3 separate regions of the Homo sapiens genome follow, and all the other regions are linked to region 1. Evidence: promoter capture Hi-C in 16 types of primary human blood cells and fetal thymus (Javierre and others, 2016). All regions are on one chromosome and are shown on one strand. Each heading gives the region's core, a stretch centred on a gene start or on the middle of the fragment in contact. The rest is flanking DNA. Distances are from core to core; before and after follow the strand shown.

Region 1 (4,840 bases), core at 2,014-4,513:
GCTACCACCTGCCAAATCTATGCTTCTTTCTGGCCCACTGCTCCAGCAAGATGAAGGCGCTTCTTGGCCCCTCTGAAAACACTTGCACATCTCAACAGGAAAAACAGGCATCGAACACCAGAACTAAAACCATGTTAAAGTAAAACCTCAATCAATTAGTATTATAATGACAATAGGCATGATTTTTTAGGTTAGAATAAACATACTTGATTTCTAGAATTACAGAATATGTTCTTGAGTATGTAGAAGGGTTATTTTTCATATGGTGTTATAAATTCATAGAATATGAGAACTGCAAGAATCATAATTTTACACATGAGAAAAGAGAAAAAGAAGCTCTGACACCCGACACCCTAAGAGGGGCAATAACTGGCCAAACAGCTCATAATGCATGTATATCTACCCCACAAAACTTATATTTAGCCACAGAATAGAAGGAATCCAGGACCCTGATCTTAGCTTGACTTTGAAGAATCCTTGAATATCTCCCATAATTTGAAAATGAATTGTTATGACAGCCTGCTAGCTTCTGTAGAGACATGAAAGGGATACAAATAATGGTTAATTTTTACTAGATGCTTACCAGATGACAGGGCCTATGCTAAGTACCTAATATATTAAGTTGAATTGTTTGAAACTTCTAATATCTGATATTCGATCTGCCAAATAATTTCAAAAAGTTCAGCCTAAAGACATTATACCTCTGAGTCTTTGCCATCTTCCTATGAAATGGGTACTATTATCACACCCATTTTACAGATTGAAAATGAAGCCTTTAATTTAAAAATGAAAATGTTCTTCCCATAAGTGTAATGTTATTTACTTATGAGTAATATTAATGCAGCCTTGTGTGCAAATTGGTGGCCTGAAACCATGTAGTATACCTAAGACATGAACAATAATAATTCACATATATTACCTTTTTCAGGGAACTTGGATAAATTTCTAATTAATAAACTTCTATAATAATTAAATAATTAAAGAAATACTTTTAAAATGTTATTTATAAGAGTAAAAAAGGCATTAGAAAACAAGAAATTTGATGTTTGGACATGTATTCTCTATATCTCACATGGAAGAATTAGAAACTGTAGCCTAGGGCTCCCCAGAATGAAGTAATTGTCTTGAAATTTTCCATAATGCTCAGATAAAGAAGTAGGGTGATTTTACAACCTTGTCTACATGCAAATTATGACCAATAATATTCTGAATTAAGGCCATCTGGTTTTGTGATTACTTACAAATAATATTGAGCTGAATTCACAATCAGTTCACAAATAGCAGTTGGGCTAAGGAATTATTAATACTAACTAAATGAGATGATACTATGTTGAATCAGAAAAACGAACTGGTGAAAACTGCAAAATGGACTTTGAAAAAAATATTTAAAGGTACATGACTGTTCTTTCAATATGAAACAAAAACTTTAAATGTTCCATTCACAAAAAAGCATTGAGTAATGCCATGCGATTTATTAGCTCTACATGATAAATCCCCCAAGTTCACAAACTGGGCTCCTGGCCACCTAGCAAAGAGGACTTGCACGTAATTCCATGTGTTTTCTGATTGACTGGTAAATTGTTATCAGTAAGAGTCTGATAATAAGACAAGCAATTCTTTTCACTTCTAAAGAGGCAGAGCTATTTCGCCTGCAACTTTTTTGTTTTCTGTATTTTTTTAATTCACAAAAGACATGCAACACCTGCAACTTTAAAAAGTGAGGCATCCATAGGCTCTATACCCAGCCTGACCTCCTCTGGAGCTCCATCTCATGAAGTGCTTTAAACCCTGGCACACCAAAGAATCCCAAACTCATGCCACCACCTACTAAGTCAGACTCCAACAAAGAACTGGAGCACTTTTGTTTCTAAGTGACCATCAGGCACCTAATATTATTTTCCCTTCAGTAAAATATAAGTGATAATCCTTGTCCTACCCCACTAATGATGTAAAAATAATATAACCATACAGTAAGAAATCAAACATGCTTTGAAAAATTGCAGCATAGGGCTAAACAAGAGCCACTGCATAAAGCAAAGAAGTTTTGAAGAAGAAAGGGATCTTGAAGGTTGTTATTTCCAGTTTTTTCATTTTATGAAGAAAGAACCTGAAACAGGAGGTAGACATTTGCCCAGACTGGATCACCTACTGAGAAGTAGAGTTTGGTCTCCTGACCCTTTGTCCAATGCTTTTTCTACCAAACTACATTATTAGGATTATTCCTGTTGCTTTTGTTATTAGTGATGTTAAGAAGCACAAGACTATTTTTAGATAAAGAGATAGACTGACCTAGCAAAGCAGCCATACTCCTTCTGGGTAAGAACCGCTGGTCTGCACTGCAGAAACTTTGTTCTTAATAACCCTGGTGTCCTAAGAAGTCTATCAAGAGATGAAGAGGTTTGCCATTGTGCCTTACAACTTTTAGATAATTAAATGCCTGGGAAATCTTATTTCAAGATCAGGCTAGCGACGAGTATTGAGACAAACAGAGTTATTCATGAAAACGTTAACACTGAACCCAAAACTTAACCATTCTAAACACCAGTTTCTTCCACTAAAAAATAAGAAAGCTGGGGTAGATCATCCCATTGAATGCTAGTGTTGTATTAATCTATGTTTCATTAAATTTAGTATGTTTCATTAAATTTAGTATGTTTCATAGAAAGTTCAAGTTTTATCGAATCATAATACTTGCTACCTAAAATGTTATTCATAATTTAAAAACCAAACATAACCTTGCAGGGGGAAAAAGCTGATGAATGTTAAATTTACAGTTTTTAGAACTGAAATCACCTAGCACCACCATTTCACCTCTTGACTGCTCTCTGCATTCTCCTCTGATTACTTTTACTGTACTTTTTATGTTGTTACAATAAGCATGTTTGTGTTTCCTGTGCTCTATTTTATGCTATGTATATATTTTTGCATTAGCCCAGTCCAAACATAAAATGCTATGCGAAAAAAGACAAATGAAACTGCTCACATACCCCATGACGATCTTCAAAGTATGCCAGGCTGGCTTTGGTTAACACAAAGAAGCGGACTTTAAAGTTCGAGGGAGAAGTTCTTCTCTTTTGTTGGGATTTCTTGATGAGCTGTTCTTCCAGGAGGATAAAGTTGTTCATGATCCAGTTCTTGAAAGGTGGTGCACCTTGGGCATCACCTCTTAGCACAACCAAAGGAAAGAGTTTTGGGGCAAAGAATGCAATGTGGAGGCAGTTGATCTTCAGAGAGCTGCTCAAGGGCAACTTGCCTTCAACGTTATCTTTCTATCAACGTTCAGCCAACATAGCTGAGCTTCTCCTCTGATGTCAAAGGCCGAAACCACATCCTTTCAAAATTCACAAAACGAGGAGGCATATGTAAAAAATACATACAGCCTTTGCTAATGGCTTGAAATGATATTTGAAAAACTGTAAACTCAAAATTGTGGTAAGGATTACAGTTTAATCTTTATAGTTCCTGGTTTAATCCATCCAGCAGTTAAATCATGTAGCACAAGGAGTAAGGACAATGTGTGGTTTTGCTTACCATGATATACTCAGCAACCATCACAGTACCTGACACATAAAACAGATGTTCAAGAAAAATTTGTTGAATGGATCATCACCAAATTGGGTTGGACAATTAAAAGAGGTAATGAGCACAAAACCCTCACACATTAAAGTGAAGAAATATGTTGCTGAAGTTTATTAGTTTTTAAGATTTAAATTAAAGCCCATAGAAATTTCTCAATGCTACATATAGATGACTGCCTTTCTGTCCTGACGTTTTGTGGAAGAGTGAAAAATAAGTGAATCCTTCAGAATGGCATAATAAACAAAGTATATGTGGGCTTTGAAAACAGACAAACTTGTGTTGGATTCCCAGCTCTGTCACTTACTATGCTGTTTCTCTTTGAGCAAGCCATGACTTCTCTGATCCTTAGCTTCCTTGTGAGGGTCCTTTGGAGGACTGAATCCCATACATCTTATGAATGGTAGGTGCTAGTCATACATGTCACCTTAGAGTTAGTACATAGTTGAAGTATAATGTGTGACAGTTACCTCTACTATGTTAATAATCAAGAGATTTTAGTGTAAGCAGATATTGCATGTAGTGGGTAGGGATAAATAATAAATGAAATAATAATTATTGCTGTATAGGAGTGAAATTCTCCAATGTTTATTTTTAAATGTAAATTACCAGACAACAGCCTAATTTTATTTCATATACTGGATGCCCCAGCATAATCAAGACACCCAGGAGGGTACGGTACTGGTATATTTTAAATTACCTCCCCCATTCTGAGATTCTTAAGACATATGTGTGGAAATACACTGCCCAAACAAGATAGTATTTTTTTTTTCTGAGTATGGGCTTGAGGTAGGGATTGCTACTATTCCCAAATAGCTACTCTCTCCTTCTTACTAGAGTAACAGAATCCCTGACAGTTATCTGGGCATCTGGCCAGCAAGAATAAAGACTACAAATTTTAGCCTCCCTTGTAGCTAGGTGTAGTTGTATGACTGTCTTCTGGTCAACTGAATGTAGCAGAAGTCGTGTGCACAACTTCTAGGAAATTTCCTTAGTGGGATCTGTCATCCCCTTTTCTTTCCCTTTTCCTCCTGCCTTGTGACTAGAATATTGAGGTAACAGTTGGAGCTGAAGCAGCTATCTAGTATCATGAGGTGGAAATTGAATGTTGAGGACAATGGAGTATAAGATAGAAAGAGCCTGGGACCCTGGTGACCATGGATCTTCCATGCCAGCCCTGGATTACATTTTTTAATATCTATTTTCTAAGTCTCAGTTATTTTGAGGTTTCTGTCACTACCAGCAAACCTAGATAATACAGTGC
Region 2 (4,554 bases), core at 1,290-3,789, 160 kb before region 1:
GGTTAATAAAAATGCACGATCCTGCCCTGGCCTGTAGAGTACTGCACAATCTGTTCCTGTGTTATCTTTCACAGCACCATTTCCCACCCGACTAGTTTTACCCTCATCAACTTCTTGGAGAAACCCTTAGAAACTTGTCTGGAATATTCTTCTCCTGCCTTTTTGCCTTATTTATTCCTAGTCATCCTTTGCATCTTAACTCCAGCATTACTTCCTCAAAGAGGAAGCCTCCGTTGAGGTTTGCATGACTTTTTGGACTGGAATAGGTGGTACTGTTACCACTGTCATGGCCCTGTGGGCTTTCCTTCATCTCCTTATTCACTGTTTGTAATGGTACATTTGTCATGTGATTGATCACCCACATCCTCCTCTAGTCTGAAGACTCAAGAGGCAGGAAGGTATCTGCTCACCATGGCATGCCCCATGTTTTACTGGAGCAGGAAAACACCCCAATGGGCAACTTCAGAGTAGCAGTAGAAAGAGCTCTTCAATGAAAGAAGACCTAATTGTTAACCACATTCAACTGTCAACCAGCTCTATGACCTTAGGCAAGTGAGACAGCACAAAGCCTGTGCCCAGGAGGGGCTCTGAGAGACACCTGTTGCAGGAACCACTCACACATGTACTGGGCCTAGTTTGGAGGAGGCAGCTGGCCACTCCCCCAACCCCCACCCGGCCCCCTCTGCACAGGGACTCCCTTACCGGTTAGTGGACCCATTGTAGCAGTAGTTGGGGAGAAAGTCAAAGTTCAGTTCCCAGAAGACATGCAGGGTGATACGGCCATAGGGGGCGGACACATTGTGATTGGCCTCTCGGAACATGGCATCGAAGCTGTCCAGCGTCATATGCTTACAGAGCAGCCGATGCGTGAGCCGGTTAATCTCCAGCAGCCACTCCAGCTCCTGTACAGAGAGAGAGCCCACAACTGCTGAGGACTTGCTTGTAAGCATTACATGTGTGTGTTTTATCTTACTGCTTCTGTTCACGCAAGTGACAGCTGCTCAGACAACCTCCTGGCCATCTACATGGGAACTAGGACCCTTACAGTAGCAGGTGACAAGGTTCCCTTCTGAGAAGTGGAAGGATTGTCAGACTACGCTGACAGAAATGGAGGCCCAGAAGGTTAAGGGCAAGGTAGGGGAAGGGGAGGTTGCACGCCTACCCCCTGGAAGGAGACCATAGACCATGTGCAAATCCCTTTTGGGTAGAGAACAAGCTTACTTGCTTTCCAGTTTCTATGTTGGTGAGAAAAAAGCAATACTAAGAGCTACCACTAATTAAGGGTTTACTATTAGGTTGAACCCTATGACGTTACTTGTTTTTTAGGGCCAAATATTGGCAATTTTGCCTGGTTCAACCAAATTAGTATGTGCCAGTTTTATATGTGTCAACTTGTTTAATGCTTATCAAACCCTATGAGGTCAGTATTGCTGCCATTCTTATTTTATACATATGGAAACCGAGGCTTTGAGAAGTTAAGTAACTTGACTTCAAATCCAGGAAACTGGGCTCCCAAGTGCACATTCTTAACCACTATATGCTCTAACTGCTATAGAAGTTTTAAAAAGAGGTGGGAGCAGAATGCCTCATCCTTTGGAGTGTAGGCCCCTTGAGGTATCACATGGGGTTGGCAAAGGCGTGGCTACAAGCCATGGGCAAGCAGTCTGCAGTCTGCAGTCAGCTCATGATGACCGGGATCTATGTGCACTGTGGGCCCTGAACGAAGGAAACCCATCTTCAGGCAAAGTGGGACAGAGTATCTGCACACAGCAGGACATGGCATTTGTTGGGAAATGAAAGAAGAGTGTAACTCTTTCAACACGCTTTGGACTCTCATTGTCCTGCAACTTCCCCGCCACTGCTATCAAAAGGAATCAAAGTACAGTCTTATGTAGAGACAGAAAGCACCTTAGGCCACTCCTGTGCTGTTTTGGTTAAGCCATCTTTTAGGATCGGTACAATGGTCCCTCATTCAGAGAGGGGAAATTGAGGCCCTGAAGGTTAAGTAACTTGCCCAAGGTCACCATAAGAGGCCTTAGGATGTGAATCCAAGTCTCCTTATTCCAAATCATGTGTTCTTGGTCCCTGTGACACAGTTCCCTGGAACAAGGATGCAAGAGCTGTGAAAGTCCTTTGAAAGGCAAAGATGGCTTTACAGCATAAAGGCTAAAAGAACATCGGCAAGGCCAATTCATCAGAGCATGGCCGGGTGGGATGACCATAGGGTCGGCTGTAATGGCTGGAATATGTCCACAGGAGGCAGCCTCATGCCAAGGATTCAATTTCATTCTCATTAGCCACAAAGACCCCTAGATGGAGACCAGAGCATGGTCAGGTGGAGATCCCAGGCTATGCTTCCAATTTTTGGAGCTCTGCCTCTCTGAAACTCAGATTCTGTGGCTCTAAGTTGAAGTGTGCAGAAATGGTTGAAGGCTTGCAAACACACATGGCTAAAGAGACCAGACAGGTCAGGTAAGTGAGATCAACTGGGGTGAAGAGAAAGTTTGGGGAGTGGGTCCATCTATGGCAAATTGGATGTCCCTGCCCAGGTAAAGGTGGAGCTGCTACTTCTGATACCCCGTCTGACCGCTGCCATGTTGGAGTGGGGGATTAGTGATGGCAAATCCTGCAATTTTTCAAAAGAAGGTCAGAATTTCAATTCTGGAACAGCATCGGAGGAATAAGTTTCCAGTCATTGTGTACCATGAAGTAAATGAAGGGCGGAAATACAGAATCAGCTTTCTGATTCTGTCTCTTGGGGGCCTGGCTAGCTGGAATATGTCTTTATTCTGATTCACTTAGGATGGGTACTAAATAAATAAAAAATACATGGAGTAAGTGGCGCTGAGTTTATTTCTAAGATCACTGAGTCCCCTGGCACACTGTGGTGCCTTGTTACTGGGAAGACAACTGAGAAGCTGGGGAACAATTTCTGTGTTATCGTTCTGTGACTTCAGCAGTCTCACAACATACATCCGTGTTCACAAGGGAAACTGAAGGAGAGGCAGAGGCTGCTGCAACCACAGGTCCACTTCTCCCTGCACAGTATGTAACCCAGACGATATTTCTGCAACACATTTCGGATTTGTTCTTCTGGCCTTGAAACCAGAAGAGGGCATGTGCCAGCTGGATGCAGGGCTCAACGCACCAAAGCATGGAAAAGGCTTAAAAAGCCATGTGGGCAGTTTAGGGGTCTCCTAAGAGGATGACACTTTTCCACAGCAAGGCTGGTTTACTAAAGGGCAACACAGAGAAACAGAACTGGGGCAGTAAAACACCCCAGTGGGCAACTTCAGAGTAGTGGGAGAAAGAGCTCATCAACGAAAGAAGACCTGATTGTTAACCACATTCAACTGTCAACCAGCTCTGTGGCCTCAGGCAAGTGAGAGAGCAAAGGTCTCAAACTCAGTACAGTGAGGCCTCGTAGGTCACACACATAAATGAAGCCTGCCACTGAGGCTGTGGCAAGCTGAAGAAAGTGTAGCCCATCTCACAGGAACTTCTAGTCATTTATGGGCAATCGTTACCATCTGGGAATGCTGGTCTGGCATTGCCAGAGCTTCTGCAGTTTTATTTGATTTCTTCCAAATGTTAAACATTGGCTCAAAATTACAAATGTACTATGCTGCCTAAACAAAACACAGCCTGCGGGCTGCCCGTTCTCAACTTCAGCATCGGGTCTTGCTGAGACTCTGTTTGCTCAGCTGTGTAAAATGAGGGTGACTAACTCCCCAAATCTTTGCAACCTCTCCCAACTCAGAATCAAGTTGCCTCCCCATCTCAGAATGGAGTTTTTCAGGTGGAGGGAAAGGCTGAGGGGAGCTCATTCCTCATTTTGTTTCTTGGAGGAGGTAGAAGCTTCTCAGCCAGGGCGAGCAGGGGCCATCCAGACCCATCGGAGAGCGCTTCCCTGAGGTCTCTTCATGGGCTTCCCAGGAACTGGTGTTCTCTGGGGAGCCACTGCCCTCGCCTGATAAGCAAGGGCTTTCACTGCTTGTTTTGATTTTGTTCCCAGCTAAAAGAACATTTAGTGCTTTTGGACAGGTGGGAAGAGGCCATGGAGACACACATATCCCAAATCTTTTTTTTCCCATAAGATATGCTCATTATTGGAAAACTAGAAGATACAGATAAACAAAAAAGAAAAAAAAATCCCGCCACTTGGAGCTAATCACTGCTAACCATTTGGCATAAAGAATAACTCTGTTTCTCAAAATAGAGGTGACCAAATGATTTCTCAGAAAAATGTGTGCTGTACTACAGTCTCCTGGAGTAAGTGACCCAGGACTTAGGTGGGTGGGTAGGTCAAGCCCTAAGAAATCACCCAAAATCACTGCATTGCAGCCCCAAATTTATTTTTCTCTCATCTTTTTTCCATAAGCTATTATTTATTAAGTGCTAACTATGTATACAAAAGACTCTTGGGAGGCCAAGGCAGGCAGATCACGAGGTCAGGAGCTTGAGACCAGCCTGGCCAACATAGTGAAACCCCATCTCTACTAAAAATACAAAAATTAGGTGGGCCTGGTGGCACATGCCTGTAGTCCCAGCTAC
Region 3 (4,570 bases), core at 1,398-3,897, 170 kb before region 1:
CAATATGATAGTATTAGGAGGTGGGCCTTTGAGAGGTGATCAGGCCATGAGGGTGGAGCCCTCATGAGTGGGATCAGTGCCCTCATCAGAAAAGACAAGAGTGCTTGCTGTCTCTCTCTCCTCTATGCCATGGGAGCCTACAGTGAGGAGAGGGGCCATCTGCACACCAGGAAGTGGGCCCTCACCAAACACTGGATCTGTTGGCACCTTAATCTTAGACTTCTCAACCTCTAGAACTGTGAGAAATAAATGTTTGTTATTCAAGTCACTCAGCTTATGGTATTCTTGTTATAGCAGGCTGAACTGACAAAGACAGTGCATCTTACTGAATATGACTATACTTCAATAAAAAAGTAAATTTAAAAATCCCACTGAGCTATGTCATAGCTTAATTCACCTTCCCAACATGATTTTCAAAGGTTAAAAAGCAGAAACATGCTTTAAATTTTCTCCTGAAGAGGGCTGCAGCTTCAGCCAGCACAGGCACCAGGTGACAAAGACCTGGCTGTGCTCACAGCCATGGGAACATAGTGCTCATGGACTGCCCTGACAGCCTTCTCATTCTCCACCCACACCAGGGACTCTAGGCTTCTCCTGTAAACCCAGCAAAGCTCTCAGCACATTCTCGTTTGTCCCCTTTTCAAATATTTCAGAAAGGAATTTCTGAGTAGCAAGCAGCTTTCTAATGGATATCACTGGAGGGGACAAAAAGCAATCATCTACTTATATTTTCTGTCTGATTCTCTGACTTCTTTTCTAGCTTGTCTGAGTCCATAGGATGGGCTTTGGGGTGGGCACACCTCAGTTCAAATTCTAGGTCTGTAAATGCACTAGTTAGATGCTCTTGGGCAAATTACCTAAACCCTCTAAGCCTTAATTTCCCCTAAGTAGAGATGATAATACCAAATCCAATAGGGTTGTTTGAGGTTTAAATGTGATCACATATATAAAGCAGTCAGCATGGTGCCTGGCACACTGGAAACGCTCACTGAAAAAATAGCCATTAATATTATTTTGTTTGATGACTTGGTAAATAAAGACAAAAACACAGCTTTCTGGTCGAATTTCCCCCAGCAGCTTTGGCGACAGCTACGATTCTCTGATTGTAAACAGGGGAGTGCATATGTGGGGGGTAATTTTATGCAACACAGCATGTACCCCACAAAGTGATAGGACAGAGGTGAGAGCCAGGACTAGTTGATAGAATGCACCAAAAAATGCATTTTATTCAACATTAAGAACATCATAAAAATGGGAGATGTTCAGTAACAGATTGTACTGGGTGGAGTTCCTCCTCACTGCAGGTATCTTATAACAACAGGGTTGTTATAAGGGGTCCCATCAAGGGCTGGAAGTGGGGATAGACGTGCTCCCTCTAGAGGATCAAGCTGAAACGCATTCTTCCTGGACGCTCATCCTTCTGAGTGGTGTCCTAAACCCTCACCGCCACCCAAGGAGCTTCTAGTACCAAGCTTCCCTGAACACTTCCTGGCAAGCACAAATAAATACACATTTACATATATGGAAACTGTTCAGCAGGAATTCCCAGATCTAGGCAGAGGCGGAGAATAGTATTGGAACTGTTTTACCACGTAAGGATTTTTAAAATGCCCCCTACACACCCACTCGGTTCACTTTGGAGGCCCCTGATTGACATTCCTATGTCAGTCTTGGATTCTGGTCTAGACTGGGAGTTTAGGCTTCAGTTGATGGTCCAAGATGCATTTCATGTGAGAAGGACCAGCATGAAATGAGGAGAATTCAAATCCTCCTCCTAAGATTAAAAAAAATCCCCCCCGACCCCTCATTCCCCCAAATATACCCCACGCATGCAAGAAGAAATGCACACGCATGCTGAAAAGTACACACACACTCATCCCCGAAGGGCACCCATCTGACCTGCTGGCTCAATAGGAGGCTGGGCCCTATTGAGAAAATGTGGGAATAGGGGAGCCTGGGCATTTTCTGAGGGTTGGCAAAGAAAAACAAGAATGCAACATGACATGAGCCATTGGAAACTTGCCATTGAACCAATTCTGCTAACTGATAGGTTCCAATCAATGGGCCTCATAGGAAACTAATTATGTATCCTGCCTGGTTAGGATGGCTCACTTAAAATTAAGCTTATTTAAATCCACACTACACAAAATAGATAGCTTTATGAGATCTCAAGAAATAAACAACCCTGATTCAGGAATTAGAGCCATGTTATTACTGTGTGACGCAGACCTGCATTTTCTTAAAAAAAGCAAAAAAGCATTTTTAAGGAGAGAAAAAAATATGGTGAGTTTAATCTGGCAGATCCTGGGCACTGTAATATTATCTGTAGATGAACTTTAAAATGTTGTGGCAAAATATACAAATAAAATTCACCATTTTAGCCATGTTTAAATGTTGTATACAGACTTTTCATCTATCCGTTGAGATAGGCCTCTATCTCATCAGATGGTAAACACGGCCAGCCACTTCAAACAGTAAGGCCTATTTACTTGGTAAACTGAATTTGTAAGCAATTTGCATCTCTGCTCTCTGGAATCACAATTGCTGTTTTCAGAGATCCCAAGAGGAATTAAACTGTTCCTAATTTCCTATTTTTGTTACAATTTCTCTAATGGATATCATCAGCCCGCAAACACAAACACAGCTCTCTAATTTAGGTGGAATGGCTGCAGCTCAATTCCCTAAAATCACTGCAGGTAAATAAAGGCGACGGCAAAAATAAAACAGCAGCATCGTCCTTGTCGGGAAGATCACAGAGCAAGACAGTGCCAAGGACTGATCAATTCTCAGTTCCAGGATCAAATCCATTGTAAACGCTTGGGTAAAACTACTAATGTGTCTATGTGTCTGTCTGTCTGTTCTTGACATTTGGGGGGCCATAGGGCTGGGTCTCCAACATCTGGGTTCCTTCTTGGCCTTCTCAGCTCAGAGGCTGAAAGATCCAAAGAGCTGCTATGCAGATCTCAAGAAATGACGCTCCTTTCTCTCCTGGGCTATGAATAAGGTGCGTTGGAAAAGGCAAGCAGGGGAACAGGAGCCGAGCCTTCCAGCTGAGAGATCACATCAACACTGTCACACTCAGAGATGCTAAAACTTTTGAAGGGAACCAATGTCATCACTTTTCTTGATAATCAGTACTCATGTGATGACACACAAGTATATCAAGCTTCTCTGTGAATTTTTCACATACGAATTCCGTCACAGCCGCCCACATTGTTTTCTGTGGCTGCTCTAACAATTACCACAAATTTGGTGGCTTCGAACAACAGCAATGTATTCTCTCAGGCTTCTGGAAGCCAGAAATCCAAACTGGTATCACTAGGCCAAAATCAAGGTGTCGGCAGGGCCACATTCCCTCCAGAAACTGCAGGGGACGATCTGTTTCCCGTCTCTTCAGCTACTGGAGGCTGGCGGCAATCCCGGGCTTGCAGCTGCACCACTCCAATCTTCCCATCTCTCTGCTGGGTCTTCGTATGGCCTTCTCCTCTTACATGTGTAAGCTCCCTCTGCTTCTCCCTTATGACACTTACGATAGCATGTAGGACCCAGCATAACCCAAGATAATCCAGGATTATCTTCCCATCTCAAGGTCCTCCAGTTAATCACATCTCCAAAGACCTCTTTCCAAAGAAAGTTACATTGACAGGTTCCAGGATTAGGACCTGATGTCTTTGGGAAACATTCTCAGCCTTCTAAACCAGGTAAGGCAGTGCAAGTATCCCCATTTAGCAGAAGTGGAATCTGAATCCCAAGTGTAATGAAGTGACTTGTCTGGGGTGAGATACAAGATGAAATTCTGCATAGGAAATTCCATATGTATTGGTTGCCAAAATCACAAAAGCCTTCTGGACTGGTGGGTAAACTACCTTGTAGAAGTGGTACCATGCAGACAGAAGGGTGGGGTGGTGGCAGGGAAGTGGGAGGTGCTGTTGGTGGTGGTGTCACAGGGACCAAGATTCCCCTGGTCAGCCCAGGCGGGCAGTGTTGGCATCCAGGTGTGTACCCAGCTGAGCTGTGCCCAGCTTGCTGCAGCAAAGCACTGGGTTCTGGGTCCTAAGGATATGATTTAACAAGGGAGGCACTGTGGTAGTATGACGGTATGATGCATTTGCCTGAGGTCAAACTGTGCCTCAGATGGGGGCTTGTGACAACCAGGCCAAACAGATCACACCAACAATTTCTAAGGGCCAAAAAATTACCAGGAAGTTATTGGAATAATTGAATGAATGCTTTATGCCGCAATCTATGTCACTTGGAAGGCAGTTTTAGGATAGACTCTATATAATTTACTTTATTTAGAGAATATATTCTTAAAGTTTTGATTCATATATTAATTTTGATTACTTGACCAGTTGTTAAAGTTTTGTTTTATTGAGCATCATCTCTAAGTGACAGAGCTCTTGCACAGAAGAACTTAGACTCCAGAGTAGGGCCTGTTCAGAAGAGGAAACACTTGCTGGTCATATTTCTCCAAATGAGTTGATGTCTTCCCTGACGCTACCACATCAGGTGGTTAGATGTTCTCTGTAAGAGCTTTTAGTTCTTCACCTGCTCCAGCATTCTGGAGTCC

The links. Contacts are between HindIII fragments. The CHiCAGO score rates a contact against its expected background, and 5 or more counts as called.
Region 2: a contact is called between a fragment that was not itself captured here and the fragment with the promoter of ITK in region 1, in 8 of 17 cell types (non-activated CD4 T cells, activated CD4 T cells, naive CD4 T cells and 5 more). The highest score is 13.1, in non-activated CD4 T cells.
Region 3: a contact is called between a fragment that was not itself captured here and the fragment with the promoter of ITK in region 1, in 2 of 17 cell types (activated CD4 T cells and non-activated CD4 T cells). The highest score is 7.2, in activated CD4 T cells.

The regions. Positions count from the first base shown.
Region 1 is chr5:157,179,263-157,184,102 of GRCh38, reverse strand. ITK (IL2 inducible T cell kinase) reads right to left here and starts at 3,263. Exons shown (of 17, transcript NM_005546.4): 1 at 2,988-3,263. The coding sequence starts at 3,125. The HindIII fragment of the contact is 39,229 bases long and covers 1-4,840 here.
Region 2 is chr5:157,335,405-157,339,958 of GRCh38, reverse strand. CYFIP2 (cytoplasmic FMR1 interacting protein 2) reads right to left here. Exons shown (of 31, transcript NM_001037333.3): 22 at 703-902. Among named protein-coding and RNA genes, the nearest start is that of FNDC9, 8.0 kb to the left of the region's middle. The HindIII fragment of the contact is 2,642 bases long and covers 1,219-3,860 here.
Region 3 is chr5:157,351,809-157,356,378 of GRCh38, reverse strand. The region is part of intron 23 of CYFIP2 (cytoplasmic FMR1 interacting protein 2); the gene reads right to left. Among named protein-coding and RNA genes, the nearest start is that of FNDC9, 8.4 kb to the right of the region's middle. The HindIII fragment of the contact is 1,043 bases long and covers 2,126-3,168 here.